3 separate regions of the Homo sapiens genome follow, and regions 2 and 3 are each linked to region 1. Evidence: promoter capture Hi-C in 16 types of primary human blood cells and fetal thymus (Javierre and others, 2016). All regions are on one chromosome and are shown on one strand. Each heading gives the region's core, a stretch centred on a gene start or on the middle of the fragment in contact. The rest is flanking DNA. Distances are from core to core; before and after follow the strand shown. Region 1 holds the start of SDHAF1 (succinate dehydrogenase complex assembly factor 1). Region 2 holds the start of PSMD8 (proteasome 26S subunit, non-ATPase 8). Region 3 holds the start of SPINT2 (serine peptidase inhibitor, Kunitz type 2).

Region 1 (4,218 bases), core at 977-3,476:
ATTTGCCCATCCCTAAACAATTACAGGGGTCAGGGGATGGGATATTCTGATTTGTCTCTAAGTAGCCAGGCCTGGGCATGTAACAGAGCTGTAGCCAGAGCCAGAGGGCAGGGATATTACCCAGGAAATCCCCTAGAATAAGAGTGGGCCAGTTCCCCAAAGACAAACTGAGAGACTGTAACCAGAAAACCATTGACAGGCCCTGGGCAGGAGGCAATAGTATTCCCTTTGAGGTTTTGCAGCTCCTTGAGTCCACTGGAAAGTAAAGAAAGTCCCCCTAGGCTGATTGACATAGTTGTCTTGGAGATTAAGGGTCATTTGACAGGAAAAAGATAGATGTTTAAATTCCAGAGTACAAGCCAGCATGGTGGCTCATCCCTATTATCCCAGCTACTTGGGAGGATGAGGCCGGAGTTCAAGACCAATCTGGGCCACATAGCAAGACCCTGTCTCTAAAAACAAAACAAAAAATAAATATTTAAAATTCCAGAGTGAAGCCTGGGCAACACAGCGAGACTCTGTCTCTACAAAAAACAATAAAAGAAGAATTAGCCGGGTGTGGTGGGATGTTCACGTAATCCTAACCACTGGACATGTTGAGGCGAGAGGATTGCTTGATCCCAGGAGATCAAGGCTGTAGTTTCACCAATATGGTGAAACCCCGCCTCTACTAAAAATACAAAAATTAGCCCAGTGTGCTGGCACATACCTGTAATTCCAGCTACTGGGGAGGCTGAGGTAGGGAGAATCACTTGAACCTAGAGGCAGAAGTTTCACCATGTGGATCAGGCTGGTGTCGATCTCCCGACCTCAGGTGGTCCGCCCGCCTCGGCCTCCAAAAGTGCTGGAATTACAGGTGTGAGCCACCGTTCTAGGACATGTATTTTTGATAGATACATACACCTGCCAGGCAGGATTCACAGTGGTTTGTGATTCTCCCCTGACTCCAAGACTCCAAGCCTAATCCCCGCCCCTGACCAGCTTCTCCTCTCTGAAGGGGAATGGACCCCCCAGCTGGTTGCCGGCCCAAGTGTGCAGAGCCGCGGTTGCGCGCTGGGTGGAGGGGTCCCCCAAGCTCCGGTGCTGGTGGGGCCCGAGGATGCTGTGTCCTTGCGGGCCTCCCTAGCGCTACGAGGACACCTCCAGGCGGCCCGCGGGGACAACAACGGCATTGCGGCCTACCACCTAAAGCTCCTGGGAGGACAACGGGGTTGCAGTCTAGTCGACTGTTCAGGGTGTCCCGGACTCCGGGCTTTAACAGTCGGTAAGGACCCAAACACCGCTGTCCACTGCCCCGACTCCCACCCGCAGAGGGCGCGACCAACCCAGCTCCTAGAGCCACACGCTGCCTCTGGGGGCTTGGCGCCCACACTCTCTCTGCTTGTCTTCCCCTGGCCCGAGAAGCCTGTCCAACCGGCCGAGAGCCATTTCCCTACGGGGTCTCGTCCCTCTGCACGTGCCCAGGGCTGGGACCCCAGACACAGACCTGCCCCGGACGAGGGAACGCACGGAGCTTCCCAAGATGGTTTGAATCAGTAACTGACGGCAAAAGCACGCTTGTGCCCGGCGTCTCTCCCAGTGCCCCGTGCCCTTGGGACCCAAAGTCCGAACCGGTAGCCGGGCGCGGTGGCTCACGCCTGGAATCCCAACACTTTGGGAGGCTGAGAATCGTTTGAGCCCAGGAGTTCGAGCCATTCTGGGCAACATAGGGAGACCCATCTCTGCAAATAATAATAATAATAAATAAATAAATAAATAAATAAATAAATAAATAAATAGCGGGCGCGGTTGCGCGCGTCTGTGGTTCCAGCTACTAGGGGAGTTGAGGTGGGAGGATCGCTTGGGCCCAGGAGTTCGAGGCTGCAGTGAGCCAAGATCGCGCCACTGCACTCCAGCCTGGGCGACAGCGAGACCCCGTCACACACAAAAAAACCCCTAGCTTCCTCTTCTCCCAGAATGCAGGAGTTAGGTGAGGACCCTCTGTTCCCTCCAACCCAAGACCTAGGAGTCCGAACACATAACGCCCTCCAGGCGGTGCCAGGATCCCCAGAACTGCTGTCCCCTCAAGAACACACGTCCCCTACGTGGGAGGCCGCGACCAGCGACTCCGCCCACTTCTCCCAGCCGGCTGTTACGTAACTGCAACGACAGCCAGTCAGACGCGGCAGCGCCGGATGGCGGGAGGCGGGAGTTGGAGGCCAAGGGAAGCGCTGGGCGGAAGTGGCTGTGGCTTTGCCCTTTGGCCTTTGCTGGCTGTGTGGCGGCTCCGCGGTTCGCAGGTCGTTCGCTGAGCGTCTCTGCTTAGCCGCGGTCATGAGCCGGCACAGCCGGCTGCAGAGGCAGGTTCTGAGCCTGTACCGCGATCTGCTGCGCGCCGGGCGTGGGAAGCCGGGCGCCGAGGCGCGAGTGCGGGCAGAGTTCCGGCAGCATGCGGGCCTGCCGCGGTCCGACGTGCTGCGCATCGAGTACCTGTACCGCCGCGGGCGGCGCCAGCTGCAGCTGCTACGCTCGGGCCACGCCACCGCCATGGGCGCCTTCGTACGCCCGCGGGCCCCGACCGGGGAGCCTGGCGGCGTGGGTTGCCAGCCTGACGACGGCGACAGTCCAAGGAACCCCCACGACAGCACGGGGGCACCGGAGACCCGCCCCGACGGACGGTGACAGGCGAAGAGCCGAACTCGCTCGATGGCGTGGTGGAGCCAGGAGGCTCGCCTGACTGCATGGGGGGACTGGGGAACCCGCCTAAGGTGAGAGGTCTTAAGAGACTAGCTTGACGAATTGGGGATGTCAGAGACTCCTCCTTGGCGACGCAGGGGGCCTAGAGAGCCCCGTGATGGACGGCAAGGGAGGCCCGCCTTTTCCGATGCTTGGAGACAGGTCGGTGCTCCTCCCCCATGAGGGCTTGGGGCGGCCTGGGACGCTGGCGGGCTGGACAGTGTCAAGCCAAGAGCTACTTGCCCGAAGGTACGGGGAGCCAGGACGACCCCCGGTGGACAGGGAGAGCCTGAGACGCCCTTCTCTTGACCCCTGAGAACATACCCACTTCTGGCTCCTCAAGGAGTCTCCCCTCTCCTGTATTTAACTCTGAGAAGTGCAGACTTTTTGCTGAGAACGTTTTGGGAAGGTGCCCTGATGAGCGGTGAGAAGCCCGGAATCCCCTTCTGGAAAACTTTCCCCCATTAATTGTGACAAGCCAGGACCATGAGGAAGGGGTAGGGGTCTATCACCCTGGTTGATCAACTGAAGACCCCCAAAGGCCCCTACTTGATGGTTTTGAGGGGCAACATTGACTCATTTGCCCCTTCCCTCTCGGAATGTTGGACAAAGGGAATAAAATTGGGGATATGTCTACTTCCCTGTTGGTGGTCTTAAAGCTTTTATATATTTCAGGATTTTTGAAACACCCCCAGCCCCCCTGCCACCACACACACACGCACACAGACACCTGGAAGGGACCATCTGGGAGGTGATAGGTGTGGGGATCTGACTCCTTCCGGAGCCCTGTAGACTGGCACATTGATTGAAGCGGCATAGTTTTCTCCCCTGGGCAGATCTGTGGAGGGGGCTCATCCTGGCTTAACCCCCAAAGATACCCCAGTTGGCTCCCTAATGGAGGGCAAGTGATTTAACATCTTTGTGTGGAAGAGGAAATGGTGGAGCTGAGAACTGGCTCGGAGCCCCTGAGGCAGTAGTGAGGGTCTCAGACCTGGAAATTTCTCAAACCTGGCTGAAGGGTCCAGCCTCAGCTACAGTGAACGACAAGGCCCTGGGGCAGGAGAGGGGAGATGAACCCCATAGATCACAGATATACTCCCTCCGGTGTCCCCATATGGGCCTGCCCTAGACATTCTGTGGAGGGATGCATTTTGCATCGCTGAGCTATATTTGCACCCATATCAGTTAAATAAGTGGAAATGAGTTCTTGTGGATGTAGCTGTGGGTAGGAGGACCACAGGTAAGGAGCATAGACCTCAGACCAAAGGGAGGATGGACGGAAGAGAAACAGTCACTGCCCTAATCCCGGTGGGGGAGCCACATTCCCAAATGGTTATAAAGTGGAATTGCAGTTTGAAGAATTAATTGCCGGGATAGGCTTCTAGGCAAGAAGACCAAGGCTGGGCGCAGTGGCTCACTCCTGTAATCCCAGCACTTTTGGAGGCCAAGATGGGCGGATCACGAGGTCAGGAGTTCCAGACCAGCCTGGCCAATATGGTGAAA
Region 2 (4,218 bases), core at 1,083-3,582, 2.4 Mb after region 1:
GAAACTATTTATGTTTTTTGAGATGGAGTCTCGCTCTGTTACCCAGGCTGGAGTGCAGTGGTGTGATCTCGGCTCACTGCAACCTCCGCCTCCTGGGTTCGAGCGATTCTCCTGCCTCAGCCTCCTGAGTAGCTGGGACTACAGACGCATGCCACTATGCCCGGCTAATTTTTTGTATTTTTAGTAGAGACGGGGTTTCACTGTGTTAGCCAGACTGGTCTCCATCTCCTGACCTCGTGATCTGCCCGCCTCAGCCTCCCGAAGTGCTGGGATTACAGGCATGAGCCACCTGGCCTGGCCATATCAACGTGGTATTTTGTTTATTTGTGTCTTTTTCTTTTTTTTTTTGAGATGGAGTTTTGCTCGTTGCCTAGGCTGGAGTGCAATGGTGCGATCTTGGCTCACTGCAACCTCCACCTCCCAAGTTCAAGTGATTCTCCTGCCTCAGCCTCCCGAGTGAGTAACTGGGATTGCAGGCACCCGCCACCATACCTGGATAGATAATTTTTTGTATAGTAGAGACGGAGTTTCACCATGTTGGCTAGGCTGGTCTCAAACTCCTGACCTCAGGTGATCCATCCACTTCAGCCTCCCAAAGTGCTGAGATTACAGACTTGAGCCACCACACCCGGCCATCATTTTTGTTTAAAACATTTTTTACCACCACAACTTCTTTCACATATTAATTTACTCATTAATTCAACACATATATAATTTCTTTCTTTTTCTTTTTTTCTTTTTTCTTTTTTTTTTTTTGAGCACAGTCTCGCTCTGTCACCCAGGCAGGAGTGCAATGGCGATCTCAGTTCACTGCAACCTCTGCCTCCCGGGTTCAAGTGCTTCTCCTGCCTCAGCCTCCCAAGTAGCTGTACTACAGATGTGCACCACCACGCCCGGCAAATTTTTGGTATTTTTACATTTATTTATTTATTTTCTCTGAGACAGAGTCTCACTCTGTCACCCAGGCTGGAGTGCAGCGGCACAATCTCAGCTCACTACAAGCTGACCTCCTGGGTTTAAGCGATTCTCCTGCCTCGGGCTCCTGAGTATCTGGGATTACAGGTGTGTGCCACCACGCACAGCTGGTTTTTTTGTTTTTTTTTTTTGGTATTTGCAGTACAGATGGGGTTTCGCCATGTTGGCCAGGTTGGTCTCGAACTCCTGACCTCAAGTGATCTATCTGCCTCGGCTTCCCAAAGTGCTGGGATTACAGGCATGAGCCACCATGCCTGGCCAACAAATATTTATTGACTGTCTACTAATATTTGCCAAGCACTGAGATACTGGGAATTCAGTAGTGAAGGAAATCGTCCTGCCTTCATGGAGATGACATTCTAAATGGTGGAGACGGAGAGTGAAAGTCGGGTTTGAGAAAAACGTGCTGCCCAGGCGCAGTGGCTCACACCTCTAATCCCAACACTTTGCGAGGTCAAGGCAGGAATATCGCTTGAGCTCAGGAGTTCGAGACCAGCCTGGGCAGTATAATGAGACTCTGTCTCTATAAAAAATTTAATTTTTTTTAAAAAGAGAGAAAAAGCGATGTTGAATGTGCAGATGTAATATCAATCAGTGGAGGAAGAAGTTGGTATAAGAAGTTGTGAATACTGGCCAGGCAAGGTGGCTCATGCCTGTAATCCCAGCATTTCGGGAGGCCAGGGCCCAGGGAATCGCCTGAGTTCAGGAGTTGGAGACCAGCCTGACCAACATCTACTAAAAATACTAAAATTACGTCTCTACTAAAAATACGAAAATTAGCCAGGCGTGGTGGCACATGCTTGTAATCCCAGCTACTTGGGAAGCTGGGGCAGAAGAATCACTTGTACCCAGGAGGCGGAGGATGCAGTGAGCCAAGATTGCTCCATTGCACTCCAGCCTGGACAACAAGAGCTAAACTCCGTCTCAAAAAAAAAAAATTGTGAATCCTCCACTTACACATGACATTGAAAGCCATAGAGCTGGATGAGTTTTGTAACTAGTTAGTTCATATAAGCTTGGGAAAAAAATGTGGAAGGATGCATTGAAAAAGACTGGAGAGGGAGCCCCAGGTACACATCCTAGCTGTTAGTCCTTTGGAAGGTTACCCAGCCTCTCAGTCTGTCTATAAAATGAGAATAACACAGCTCTCCAAATGGCACGACACCCGCTACCTTTTGGCTTGGAGACGCTGCCCCGAAGGCGGAACCTCCAGGACAGCTACGTAGCGTCCCGAGCACTCAGACTGAAGCCAGGGCAGCCATGTTCATTATTGGAACCGTGAGGTGGGTAGGGGGGGTGGTGTTGAGACAGCTGTCATTTTCAGTTAGGGCAAAAGCCAACTTCCGGTCACCATCTTGAGTGACGACAGAGGCGGAGCTCCAACTGACATGTTCATTAAGGGCAGGGCTCCGAGGGCGCCACCTCGAGAGCGACGGCGGGCTACCCGGGGCGGGCTGAGGCAGGTTGTAGCCCCGCCCCGGGCCTTGGGCTCCACCTCTCGGCCCCACTTCCGCCGGGCAAGCGTTTGTAGGCGGCGCTGCCGTAAATCAGGCGGTCTGCTTGCCGCATCACGCAAGATGGCGGCCGCGGCGGTGAACGGGGCGGCAGGCTTCTCGAGCTCCGGGCCCGCGGCAACCTCGGGCGCTGTTCTGCAGGCCGCGACCGGCATGTACGAGCAACTCAAGGGCGAGTGGAACCGTAAAAGCCCCAATCTTAGCAAGTGCGGGGAAGAGCTGGGTCGACTCAAGGTAAAGTCGGCAGGCCCAGGAAACCGAGTGTTGCGGGCGTGGGAGGCGCTACGAGGTGTCTGGACCCAACCAAGTCCCGGGCCGCGGAAGCCACCTCGGTGCCAGCGAGACTGAGGCGGGCTGGGGGATCCGATGGGGTGAAAGATTTGGAACAGCCAAAGTGGGGGCTCGGAGGGCGTCAAGAAGCGAGAGAGGGACAGGGAGCGTTGATGGTCACGCCTGTAATCGCAGCGCTTTGGGAGGCCGAGGCGGGGGAGCGTCGCTTGAGCCCAGGAGTTCAAGATCAGCCTGAGCAACATAGCGAGACTCTGTCTCTACATTTTTTTTTTAAGTGAGAGATGACTGGAATGGACCCACGCGGGGGTGGTGGGGGAATGATTGGAAGACTTATGGCAGAACTGAGTGAGGGGTTAGATTTTTGGTGCGTGGAGGCTTAACTGGTCGGAGTGGCAGGATTGGGATTCGGGCTTTTCCTGATGGTGGATTCCAGGCAAGACCAAGTGGGAAGTGAGGACTGCCCGGAGTGATAAAAGAATGAGGCTGAAAAGGTGGGCTGTGTAGAGGGTGTGTGGTTAAGACCAGGCTGGGTTAGGATCTGAGAGATCTGGGGCTTAGGCTCGCATCTGTTGGGAGAGGGGGCAGCCTAGTTGTGAAGGCAGGACTGAACCTAGAAGAAATATTCTTACAAGTAGAGAACAAGAATACGGGGCCCAGAGTGCTTCAGACCAAACATCTGTTGGGAGGGAGTGTAAATCCAGTGGCTTGGAACAAGCTGCTGAGCCTGCTAAGGAAAGATGTATGGGCTGAACTGTGGGGGGAGATTTGGACCTCCCCCTCCCAGATATAGATTTTGGGGATAGCCCAGCTACCCCTTCCCCAATAGATTGTGGGGAAGATGGGCCAAGAATGGAATGTACTCCTGTCCCCACCGCCGCGTGATTCCACTGGGTCAGGCACTGAGTGTCCCTCCTTGTTTCCCCAGTGGGGCTATTAATAATTGTAATGTGATGTAATCTTAAATGGGCATGTGTTGCGTGCTCAGGCCCTGTTCTGAGTGCTTTATGAGAAAGCATTCCTCATGAGTCTGGATGATGGTTAGCTCCATTTTCCAAGTGGGAAGACCAGAGCGTAGAGCAGGTAAGTCATCTGTATTTGAATTCCCTTCTTTTCTTTCTTCCCTCCCTCCCCTCCCCATCAGCTAGTTCTTCTGGAGCTCAACTTCTTGCCAACCACAGGGACCAAGCTGACCAAACAGCAGCTAATTCTGGCCCGTGAGTGTCACTGGGGTTGGTTGGGGGTGATAATCTGGGGGTCATGGCAGGAATGGTAGCACTGGTGGTTGGGGAAGAGACCTCAGTCACCTCCTGAGAGCTCACTCTGTCACCCACAGGTGACATACTGGAGATCGGGGCCCAATGGAGCATCCTACGCAAGGACATCCCCTCCTTCGAGCGCTACATGGCCCAGCTCAAATGCTACTACTTTGATTACAAGT
Region 3 (4,218 bases), core at 979-3,478, 2.3 Mb after region 1:
TGCTCCCGCCACCACGCCCGGCTAATCTTTTTGATTTTTTCACCGTGTTAGCCAAGATGGTCTTGATCTGCTGACCTCGTGATCCACCCGCCTTGGCCTCCCAAAGTGCTGGGATTACAGGCATGAGCCACTGCGCTCAGCCCTCCTTTTGAGTTTTTGTGTTTAAAGTTCAAAACTGGACAGATGCAGTGGCTCACGCCTGTAATCCCAGCACTTTGGGAGGTCAAGGTGGGCGGATCGTGAGGTCAGAAGTTCGAGACCAGCCTGGCCAACATGGTGAAACTCCATCTCTACAAAAAATACAAAAATTAGCTGGGCGTGGTGGCGGGTGGTGCCTGTAATCCCAGCTACTCAGGAGGCTGAGGCAGGAGAATTGCTTGAATCCAGGAGGTGGAGGTTGCAGTGAGCTGAGATCACAGCATTGCACTCCAGCCTGGGCAACAGGTGAAACTCTGTCTCAAAATAAAATAAAATAAAGAAAGAAGAGGCCTATACCTTCTTCCAAGCCTTGACGGCTCAGCACATACTTCTCTGTTTTCATGCTCAAGCCTAGGTTTAGTAGGCCTGAGTGGCAGTGGGAGATTCAAGTGCTGGGGGAGACCTTTGGCCTCACATTCAGATTCCACCTTGAGTCCCATGATCTCATTGCAAGGTTAGACTTCCATTGTTTAAGGTAAATACCATTTTGATAACTCAGTTACGGCTTTTCATGTATTATTATGCTAGGAGGGAGGCTGAAGAGTGGGAGTGGCCCTGGCTCCTGAACACACTATTCTCTTTCCTGCCTGAAGGCCTCCGCATGTGCCATTCCTGATTCTTGGAATGTTTGTCCCTTGGCCTTTATCATCCTTCAGAGTTCATTATCAAAGCCACCCCTCACAAAGCCCTTCCTCCGCCACCCCATTCAAAAGATCTCTTGTTATTTTCCATCCCAGCCCCTGATTCCTTTTCTGTATAGCACTGTCAAAGTGTTTTCAGGCCAGGTGTGGTGGTTCACGCCTGTAATACAACACTTTTGGAAGGATGAGACAGGAGGATCCCTTGAAGCCAGGAGTTTGAGACCAGCCTGGGCAACATAGCAAGTCCCCTGTCTCCACAAAAAATTTAAAAATTAGCTGGATGTGGTGGCTCACATCTGTAGTCCCAGCTACTTGGGAGGCTGAGGTGGGAGGATCCCTTGAGCCCAGGAGGTCAAGGCTGCAGTGAGCCAAGATCACTCCATTGCACTCCAGCCTGGGCAACAAGAGCAAAACTTCCATCTCAAAAAAAAAAAAAAAAAGAAATAATCTAAAAGTGTTTTCAATAATAATGCATTTATGTTGATTACCTTGTTGGCTATCCTCTACTCGTGTGCCTGCCCCACTCCATTCCCCTTTCTAGAGTCTGTTCACGTAACTCCTCTTCCAGGAAGCCCTCTTTGACTCCCAGGCTTGGTCAGGTGTCTTCTCTGGGTTTCCCCAGGGGCTTCCTTCCTCTCAATTCTGATGCTGCCTGTGCTAAGTATTTGTCTCCATATCTGTCCTGAGAACCTTGGAGCCAGGGCTCGGGGCTGTTTTTGCATGGGCCTATCACCTCCTCCAGGAAGCCCTCCTTGGCCCTCTCTCAGGCTGGATGGGAAAGCTGTCTGGGCTCCCATCATGCCCTGGTTTTCTAGCGACCCAGCCTCTGATCCCTAAGCTTGGCCTTCCCCATCACAGCTTTCATCACTTTGTGCTAAGCTTCCGCTATCACTACTCTGGGCCGTTCCTGTTTGGTGACTCAGGGACCAGTCTGGCATGGCCACCGCTGGGTCCCCAGCATTAAGCCCTGGAGCATGAGCCCAGTGAACTTTGAAATTCAGGAAGGAATTCACAGGAAAGCTGCGGCGAGGCGGGCAGAAAACCACAGGCTTCCAAGAAACGCGTGTCTGCCGCCCCCTCCTCCCACCCTGAGGCCAGTCCTAGAGCGAAGGCCCTCCTCCGACGTCGTCACCAAGCCCAAGGGAAGGGTGGCAGGTGCTCAGCGGGCAGACGCCCCGCCCCGCCCCGCCAGGTTCTGTTGGGGGCGAGGCCCGCGCAAGCCCCGCCTCTTCCCCGGCACCAGGGGCGGGCCCAGGTGCGCCCAGGGCCGGGGAGCGGCCGCGCAGGTGCCTGCCCTTTGCGCCTGCGCCCAGCTCGCCCTGCCTAGCCAGGTGCGCCCCGCCCCCTGCCTGCCCGGCCACCTTCGGGAGCCGCTTCCAATAGGCGTTCGCCATTGGCTCTGGCGACCTCCGCGCGTTGGGAGGTGTAGCGCGGCTCTGAACGCGCTGAGGGCCGTTGAGTGTCGCAGGCGGCGAGGGCGCGAGTGAGGAGCAGACCCAGGCATCGCGCGCCGAGAAGGCCGGGCGTCCCCACACTGAAGGTCCGGAAAGGCGACTTCCGGGGGCTTTGGCACCTGGCGGACCCTCCCGGAGCGTCGGCACCTGAACGCGAGGCGCTCCATTGCGCGTGCGCGTTGAGGGGCTTCCCGCACCTGATCGCGAGACCCCAACGGCTGGTGGCGTCGCCTGCGCGTCTCGGCTGAGCTGGCCATGGCGCAGCTGTGCGGGCTGAGGCGGAGCCGGGCGTTTCTCGCCCTGCTGGGATCGCTGCTCCTCTCTGGGGTCCTGGCGGCCGACCGAGAACGCAGCATCCACGGTGAGGGCCGGGCGGGTAGGCTGGAGGCGGGGCGCAGGGGGCAGAGGCTCGGGGGTCAACGGGGGTCTGAGCAGGGAGAACTGGCGGGGGAGGAAACTGGGGGCTACTTGATGGCGTTCAGCGGGTGTGGTGGAACCAGCCCTGGAGGATTGAGCCTTGAAATGAGGTTTGGGAGCCTTCGACAGCGAAGACGGGCGGAGGAGCGAGGGTTAGGAGAGTTTCCTTCGGGTGGAGGAAGAGTCAAGGGGTATTGACCAAGAAGGCGTGGCACTGCCCCTTCCTGTGGCAAGAACGGGGTGAGGAGCCGAATTGAAGACCAGCCTTCTCCTGGCGGTGGAAAGTTCCATGGCCAAAGCTCAGGGAGAGGCCAGGCCTGTGAGATGGTGGGGGTTGGGTTGGGTGACCTGGTGGCCGTTTTAGACTCGGAAGAAGCCCATCTCACCCCTGCCTCTTTGGAGATTGGACAAGAGCCTCCCCTGAAGTTTTTGTAGTTGAGTTGCAGTAAAGTAGGTGCCCGAGAAGGAGGGAGCAAGAAAGGAAACAAGCTTTGGGGAAGAGGAAGCTCTGCTAAGGCTCGAGAGAGTATTGGCGTTGAGCAGCTGGTGTTGGGGTCTTTGGATTGGCCCTTAGAAGTCGGTGGTGAATAAGGTGATTTAAACTTCTACACTCTTAAGGAAGTGTGGTCTGAAAGGTCTCTTTGAACAAGTGTTGTTATAACCTTAACTGCTTCAGACAAGCACCAGCGTGTTTTGAAAAGAGCTCTCTTGAAAGCAAGAATTCATTGATTCAGCAAAACTTACTGAGGCCCTGCTACGTGTCAGGCACTGGCGCTGGTTATAACAGTTAACTCAGACTAGCTGGGTTCCTGCATTCACAGAGCTAATATTCCAGTGGGAGAGGCAGAGCTAGTGAAGGTTTAAAAAGCACTTGCCATGAGATTAAGTTACTGAGAATTAAATGAACCAGGTGAAGTACACCAACAGGGTGACGTAAGATGTTGGGGGCGGCTTTAGCTCAGGTGGTCGGGGGACGTCTCCGTGAGGAGGGTGACATCTGAGCTCTAACATGAAGAATGAGGCAGTAGCCACACGGAGACCTGGGGGACCAGTGTCCAGTTGCAGGCAATAGAGTACAAAGGCCTTGAAGCTGGAACAAGCTTGGTTGGGTTCAGGGAAAAGACAGAGCCAGCCTGGCTGGAGCAGGCGTGAAGGAGGGGAGGACTGGAGGAGGATGGGAGGTGGGAGAGGTTGGCTGCAGCCAGATGGCCTAGGGCTTTATAGACAGGTGCTGGTGCTTGAACCCGGGAGGCGGATGTTGCAGTGAGCCAAGATCGCGCCACTGCATTCCAGCTTGGGCAACAAGAGTGAAACTCCCATCTCAAAAAAAAAAAAAGAAGGCCGGGTGATGTGGCTCATGCCTGTAATCCTAGAACTTTGGGAGGCCAAGGCGGGCAGATCACTGGAGGCCAGGAGTTCAACACCACCCTAGGCAACATGATGAAACCCCGTCTCTACCAAAAATACAAAAATTAGCTGGGCATGGTGGTGCACACCTGTAGTCCCGG

What was found. The method cuts DNA at HindIII sites, captures the fragments that hold promoters and counts their contacts. A CHiCAGO score of 5 or more calls a contact.
Region 2: the fragment with the promoter of PSMD8 here is called in contact with the fragment with the promoter of SDHAF1 in region 1 in 4 of 17 cell types (non-activated CD4 T cells, M1 macrophages, monocytes and 1 more); the score reaches 7.1 in non-activated CD4 T cells.
Region 3: the fragment with the promoter of SPINT2 here is called in contact with the fragment with the promoter of SDHAF1 in region 1 in 1 of 17 cell types (fetal thymus); the score reaches 8.7 in fetal thymus.

What each region holds. Positions count from the first base shown.
Region 1 is chr19:35,992,962-35,997,179 of GRCh38, forward strand. It overlaps SDHAF1 (succinate dehydrogenase complex assembly factor 1), which reads left to right and starts at 2,227. Exons shown (of 1, transcript NM_001042631.3): 1 at 2,227-3,351. The coding sequence starts at 2,314. The coding sequence ends at 2,661. RefSeq lists enhancers at 1,190-1,689, 2,024-2,073, 2,334-2,413 and silencers at 2,474-2,533, 2,564-2,683. The HindIII fragment of the contact is 4,511 bases long and covers 1-3,372 here.
Region 2 is chr19:38,372,239-38,376,456 of GRCh38, forward strand. It overlaps PSMD8 (proteasome 26S subunit, non-ATPase 8), which reads left to right and starts at 2,333. Exons shown (of 7, transcript NM_002812.5): 1 at 2,333-2,723; 2 at 3,922-3,994; 3 at 4,114-4,216. The coding sequence starts at 2,364. RefSeq lists enhancers at 2,242-2,872, 2,503-2,642. The HindIII fragment of the contact is 10,393 bases long and covers 1,989-4,218 here.
Region 3 is chr19:38,262,345-38,266,562 of GRCh38, forward strand. It overlaps SPINT2 (serine peptidase inhibitor, Kunitz type 2), which reads left to right and starts at 2,229. Exons shown (of 7, transcript NM_021102.4): 1 at 2,229-2,654. The coding sequence starts at 2,549. RefSeq lists enhancers at 1-719, 860-1,777 and a silencer at 1,934-2,253. The HindIII fragment of the contact is 1,481 bases long and covers 1,717-3,197 here.